Linked DNA regions of Homo sapiens: region 1 is linked to region 2. The links are contacts of gene promoters, found by promoter capture Hi-C in blood cells and fetal thymus (Javierre and others, 2016). All regions are on one chromosome and are shown on one strand. The core of a region is centred on a gene start or on the middle of the fragment in contact, and the rest is flanking DNA. Distances in the headings are between cores, read along the strand shown.

The links. Contacts are between HindIII fragments. The CHiCAGO score rates a contact against its expected background, and 5 or more counts as called.
Region 1: a contact is called between the fragment with the promoter of LCN6 here and the fragment with the promoter of PMPCA in region 2, in 2 of 17 cell types (megakaryocytes and M0 macrophages). The highest score is 6.1, in megakaryocytes.

Annotation. Positions count from the first base shown.
Region 1 is chr9:136,746,568-136,749,813 of GRCh38, reverse strand. It overlaps LCN6 (lipocalin 6), which reads left to right and starts at 1,289. Exons shown (of 7, transcript NM_198946.3): 1 at 1,289-1,420; 2 at 2,251-2,390. The coding sequence starts at 1,331. LOC100128593 (a long non-coding RNA gene) reads right to left here. Exons shown (of 3, transcript NR_033913.1): 2 at 1,242-2,736; 3 at 1-1,068. It overlaps MIR6722 (microRNA 6722), which reads left to right and starts at 2,844; the gene lies at 2,844-2,921. The HindIII fragment of the contact is 9,973 bases long and covers 1-3,246 here.
Region 2 is chr9:136,408,714-136,411,954 of GRCh38, reverse strand. PMPCA (peptidase, mitochondrial processing subunit alpha) reads right to left here and starts at 1,297. Exons shown (of 13, transcript NM_015160.3): 1 at 1,216-1,297. The coding sequence starts at 1,286. ENTR1 (endosome associated trafficking regulator 1) reads left to right here and starts at 1,341. Exons shown (of 10, transcript NM_001039707.2): 1 at 1,341-1,627; 2 at 1,716-1,865; 3 at 2,888-2,956. The coding sequence starts at 1,558. RefSeq lists enhancers at 1,059-1,108, 1,139-1,228, 2,079-2,238 and silencers at 1,439-1,528, 1,669-1,718. The HindIII fragment of the contact is 5,612 bases long and covers 450-3,241 here.

The DNA.
Region 1 (3,246 bases), core at 40-2,539, 340 kb before region 2:
TCAGCTTCCTGAGTAGCTGGGACTACAGGAGCACGCCACCATGTCCAGCTAATTTTTAAACTTGCTTGTAGAGACGAAGTCTTGCTATGTCGCCCAGGCTGGTCTCAAACTCCTGGACTCAAGTGATCCTCCCGCCTCAGCCTCCTGAAGTGCTGGGATTACCGCGAGCAGCCACGGCTCCCTCCTGAAGGCTCCAGGCCTAAGTGTCCCGCTCCCTTGTTCTGTGGCTCAGCCCCTGGGCAACTCCTGCTTGCCATGGCTGTGGCTGGCACCTCCGTGGCCCCACTGCCCGGTCAGTCTTCGCAGGCCCAGCCCCCAGTAGCTGTGTGGTTTCTGCCTTCCTCCTGCACTCTGGTGGTCACAGGCCCTGCTGCGTGGGTACAGGGCAGGTGGCCAGGGCTGCAGCATAAGCTCTGTGAGTGCAGGCGGCCCTGGGCACTGGAGCCTTGTTGCATGGACGTGCTCCTTGCACCCTTGTTGATGAATGAGCGAAGGTGTGTGGGAGTGAATCCCAGAGGGTGCAGGCCACGGCACTGGGGGAGGACCCTCCCGGCTGCCTCCCAGTGGGCTTCAGGGGCTCAGATAGACCCTGCCGAGCACCTCTGTCCTCTGCTCCCGGACTGGGGCTGCAGAGAGCTCTCAAGGGGCCTTGGGAGGCACAAGCAGGCCAGGGTCCCAGGGAGGGGAGGCAGGAGGCAGCAGGGCCGGATGGTGGGCTGCAGAGGTGGAAGGAACAGGACAGTCTGTTCTGGGGGTGCTGGCTGTGGGGGACAGAGGCCAGGCCACAAAGCAGAATGGTGGGTGGGCCAGGAGGAGGTGGGAGCCTTTTTCAAAAGGCTTTCAGGGACTTTTTATATTTAATGATTGAAACAAAAGATATCCAAAACCGCAGTTCCTGAGAACCACTTGTTCTCGCCCTGGTTCCTCTCCTTGGGCTTGACCTTGGCCTCCTGCCGGGCCTGGCAGCGGACAGCAGTCTCCCTGCTTCCCAGGCTGGGCGAGGGAGAGCGTGGGTCCCCAGGAACGGGGGAGGTGGTGCGGCTGGCTTTAGGATGCCCATTCTGGAACCTTCTGGTGGAAGAAAGCAGGGGATCAGTATAGTATGGTTGATCCACACACTCCAGACCCTCTCCTGGCTGTGCAGCTGGTCTGATCTGGGCTCAGAGGCTGCCACTGCTCAGTGCTCCCCTGGGTAATTTTGCAGGAGGCCAGGAGGGTTCCTGGCAGTTAGTGCCACCCACACGGAGAAATTCAGAGCCATATAAACGGGTCTCCAGGGCCTGGAGGGACTGCACATCCTGGGCCTGCGGCGCAGTGTAGACCTGGGAGGATGGGCGGCCTGCTGCTGGCTGCTTTTCTGGCTTTGGTCTCGGTGCCCAGGGCCCAGGCCGTGTGGTTGGGAAGACTGGACCCTGAGCAGGTACAGTCCTCCTGGGGGTGGGGAGAGCTGGTCCTCGGGGGCCAGCCCCTCCTTTAAGGCCACACAGCTTCTGGGCCCCCCAGGGCTAGCCCAGACCAGCATGAGCAGTGGGGAATTAGTTGGGCCAGCCCTTGGGGAGTCCCACAGGCAGGAGCCTCAGGGCAGGAGGGGTGGATGCTGGAGGGTTGGAGGCTGGAGGGCTGGAGAATTGGAGGCTGGAGACTGGAGGTTGCAGGGCTGGAGGGTGTAGGGTTGGAGAACTGGAGGCTGGAGGGCTGGAGGCTGTAGGGCTGGAGAACTGGAGGCTGGAGGCTGCTGGGCTGGAGGCTGGAGGGCTGTAGAACTGGAGGCTGGAGGGCTGGAGGCTGGAGGGCTGCAGAACTGGAGGCTGGAGGGCTGGAGAGCTGGAGACTAGAGGCTGCAGGGCTGCAGGCTGGAGGTTGGAAGGCTGGAGGGCTGGAGCCTAGAGGCTGTAGGGCTGGAAGGCTGGAGGCTGGAGGGTTGGAGGTCTGGGGGGTTGGAAGCTGGAGGCTGGAGGGCTGGAGAACTGAAGGCTAGAGGCTGCAAGGCTGGAAGGTTGGAGGCTGGAGGGCGGGAGGGTTGGAGACTGGAGGCTGGAGGGCTGGATGGTTGGAGGGTGGAGGCTGGAGGCTGCAGGGCTGGAAGGCTGGAGGCTGGAGGGTTGGAGGCTGGAGGCTGGAGGGCTGGATGGTTGGAGGGTGGAGGCTGAGGCTGGAGGTTTGGAGGCTGGAGGCTGAGGCTGGAGGGTTGGAGGCTGGAGGCTGGAGGCTGGAGGGCTGGCGGCCCTAACGGGAGCCGCCTCAATGCAGCTTCTTGGGCCCTGGTACGTGCTTGCGGTGGCCTCCCGGGAAAAGGGCTTTGCCATGGAGAAGGACATGAAGAACGTCGTGGGGGTGGTGGTGACCCTCACTCCAGAAAACAACCTGCGGACGCTGTCCTCTCAGCACGGGTGAGTGGGCGGGTCCTGCCAGGCCTTCCCGCAGGCAGGACTGTGGCTCAGCCACATCATGTACTTTGCACATCTGCTCCCGGGCACCGCGGCCTGGGGGCTTCCCACGGCCCCTCTGCACCCCCGTCACTTTTCCCACTGGGCTCTGTGCAGAGCCACCAGCCCTCTGCCCAGCTACTCACATCTGTGTCCCTGGGGCCTCCAGGTGGCACTCCCACCTTCAATACCGCGGCGGGCACTGCTCTGACTATGCTCCTTCATGCATCCCTGTCCTGGGTCATCTGGGCTGCAGGCTGTGGTCAGAGCTGGGGAAGCCTGTCCTCTCAGCAGGCCTTTTTCGGGAATTCTGTTTAAAGGAGGATAATGCATTCGGACCTAAGAACCACTGGTTCTTTCATAACATAAATCCCCAAACAATATGGTCATGGACGCTGTTGGCCAGACTGGCCTTGTGGCCTCAGGCAGGCGCACCCGACCACATGCATGGCTGGTGGCGGCGTGCAGGGGTCGGGTGGGCCAGGCTGTGGGGCGGCCGTGCTACACAGGGGACACCTACAGGGCAGCCGGGCTGTGGGGGTAGCCGTGCTGGGGCAGGAGTCGGTGCCCGCCTCCCTTCACAGAAGAGTGGCCTGCTGGGTGGCGTGGTGGGTGTCTACCCCCTGGCAGGCTGGCGACAGAGCCCAGGCCTGAACCACTGAGCCAGGTACGGGGCCCAGAGAGAAGAACCTGCCCTCCTCACCAGCGTGCCTTCCCCCTGCACCTGCGCCTGCAGGGTATGGGCAGGGGCCCCACTGCACCCCCCGGGCCAGGCCTGGCCTCAGGGCGAGCTGGGACCAAGGGGCTCCAGGCTGAGGTG
Region 2 (3,241 bases), core at 48-2,547:
ACAAACCTGTGATGACCTGTTAGGTGCGGTTAGTTATGTTTTGTCTGGGTTAAAAGTGAGCATCTGCCTTTCTACAGGACTTATTTCTACAGACTTTGGAAGACAAAGCAGAGGCTGACAACAAAGGCTCAGCCACGGGACCTGGAGCAAGCTGGTTCCGTCCTTTGGGTCTTAGTTGCTATCTCTGTAAAAACAGGGCTTATTAACAGTAACTCACTCTAAGTGCAGTTTGTACACATAAAGCACTTAACAGCTCTGCCCTCCAACAGCACCACCGAAGTCTTGGATAAAAGCCATATCCCTTATTAACCTGGTCCGAAGGCGGGGTGTGACTTGGCCTCTGTCTCCCTCTCCAAACTCATCTCTTGAACCCCCACACTCCCATAGGTCCTGGTCACACTGATTCTTGTCAATTCCTGGAACACATTTGACTCATCAACCCCAAAGCTTCTTCACCGTTCCAGGGCTTGCCCTTTGCCCATGCCTACCCCTTCTTTCATTCTTCAGCTCTTCCCTTAAATGTCACCCTGATGGAGGACTATCCCTCACCAGTCTAGTCTTTCCTGCTATTTTCTATCATGAAAGGCTGCTTGTTTACTCCAAAGCATTTACGCGACTGCCGATATTTTGTTTACGCTCCAGCCTGTATCCATCTCCTGGAGGCAGCACCTCCGCACCCCTGAAACGGCGCTCGTTGTGTGGGGAGGGGCGACGCCTGTGCTGTCGGAACAAAGTTCCAGCGTGGGGAAAGGCAGGCCCGGTCACTTGGGTGGGAGGAGCGGTGGGTACGGAAAGGGTTCTTAAACGTCAGAGATCAACGGACAGACCGCAGCAACCGAGAGCCTGGACCCTGGTGTCAGAACCCTGCGGGTCTAACAGAGCTGGGCCCCCACCGGCTCAGCCTCCTGAAGGAGCACGCGGTAGGTGAAGCGCGGGGGCAAATATGAGGCATGGCCTCGGAGAAGGCCCGTCGACCCGGGAAGTGAGGGGGGGAGAGGACCCAGCAGCCGGGGAGAGGAGAGACAGATGGGACTGCGTCCCCGGGCTCGAGGCGCAAAGCAAGGCAGGGCCCCCGTCGCCTCGGGGACACCAGTGTCCCGAAGTGCGAGCCCGTCCCACGGGCGCCATGTCACCTGTAGAAACCGAAGACGGAGCGTCCAGAAAGACTCGAGCCGCCCCCGCCCCAGGCCGAAGCCTGGTTCGCCTTTGGCTCACCTCAGCCGCGAACAGCCCCAAGAACCCGAGCCCCGCAGCAACCGCGTCGCCGCCAGCACCACAGCCGCCATCTTGCGTCTCCGCCCCGCTTCAGTCGTCACTTCCGCTTCCGCCCACGGCTTCCCCTCCCCCTCGCCGACGGCCCAAGGCGTTCAGGCACGCGCTTTCGGTGCTCGGAGCGGAAGCAGCGGCGAGAGGCTCGGAGGCGCGGGGGCGGCCGAGCGGCGGGCGACGGGGGCGGGCGACGGGGGCGGGCGACGCGGGCCGCGGCACGGGCGGAGCCGGGGCCATGGAGCCGCCGCTGCCGGGCTAGGCAGGTCGTGCCCCGCCGGGCCGGCGGCGATGTCGGGCTACCAGCGCCGCCCGGGCGCCACCCCGCTGTCCCGAGCCCGGAGCCTCGCCATTCCCGACGGTGAGCGGGGCAGGGGCCGAGTCCAGCGGTCCAGGTGGGCGGCGGCCGCCCCGGCACGCAGTAAAGTCGCTGTTGTCGTTGCTTCCAGCTCCAGCGTTCTATGAGCGCCGGTCTTGTCTCCCCCAGCTAAATTGTGAGCGCCCCCATGGCAGGGACCTGGACTCCCCCTTCTTCGGCATTCGGCCGGCCTTTATGTGCTATGTGCCCAGCCCGGTGCTGGCTTCCGTGGGAGACACAGGTGAGAGACGAGGGCGCCGGCCCCGGGGACGCTTCCAGTTCCCGCGCCACGTGTGGCACCTCCGCTGCAGCACGAGCTCGTCCATTGACCCATCAATGTGCAGAGCGCTCACTGCGTGCCAGGCACTCGGAATTCAAAGGCGGAGTCCCCTGCTAGGAGCTCACAGTCTGGTTGCGGGGAGACCTCCCCCAAGACAGACAGTTCCAGTACAGGATGGTTAGTGCCCGGGGAGCACAGGAGCCCGCCCGCTTTCCTCGTGGGGCTGGAGTCGGGGTGCCTTCACCTAGTGGGCAGTGATTGGAAACCGAGCTGGAGCATTCCATCTGCCTCCACAGCCGGGCAGTGGCCAGATCTGGTTCGTCCTCGTTCTACCCAAGCAGAAGTGCTGCTGGGTGCCCGGGGTGTGCAGGAGTGTTTGTGTGGTTATGCCAGGATCTGAGGACATTCGGGGGTTGTCACAAGACAAGAGGACGCGCTTGCCCCGGCTGGGCTTCAAAATCTGCTGAGGAGCCGCTTTCAGACCACGGACACCAGGGCCAGTCTGCAAGTCAGGCCATCTCCAGGGTCACAAGTCTGGGAGCTTGTGTTTTTTTTAAAGTTTTCTCGGCTGACCGGGCGCAGTGGCTTACGCCTGTAATCCCAGCACTTTGGGAGGCCGAGGCAGGCGGATCATGAGGTCAGGAGATTGAGACCATCCTGGCTAACAGGGTGAAAACCCGTCTCTACAAAAAATACAAAAAAATTAGCCGGGCGTGGTGGCAGGTGCCTGTAGTCCCAGCTACTCGGGAGGATGAGGCAGGAGAATGGCGTGAACCCAGGAGGCGGAGCTTGCAGGGAGCCGAGATCGCACCACTGCACTCCAGCTTGGGCGACAGAGCAAGACTCCGTCTCAAAAAAAAAAAAAAAGTTCTCTAGACTGTGAGAACCACTGCAGTGGAGACTCCATGTGCAAAAGAAAAAAACCAAATGTGAGGTCATAAAGACTTCCTGCCAGCATGGTGGGTGACATTGTTTCTTTGCAGATTTTGGCTATGGAAAGGGGAAATGTTCTAAGCAGAGCCCGTCAGGAGCCCACGGGACACATTTTGGAGGTAGAGTAGTTCAGCAACCTTTTCTTCTTGTCTCCATCCAACACAGTGCCAGGCACGTGTCTGGTGGGACTGTCAATGTGACTGGCTATGTGGTGTAGCTGGAGCCCAAAAGAGCAGGTGGGGGTGGGATTTCAAGGGTTCAGTCTTGATCCTAGAGTAGCAGCGAGGTGACATCAGGGAGCGGGGAAGCCCCACCTGGGGGGCTGGGGCCACAGGAGCCAGCTTTACATGGGGCTCACAGCTGGGAGGGTCGAGTGTGGCTGCTTAAGTCCCCGGAGGGTGGGA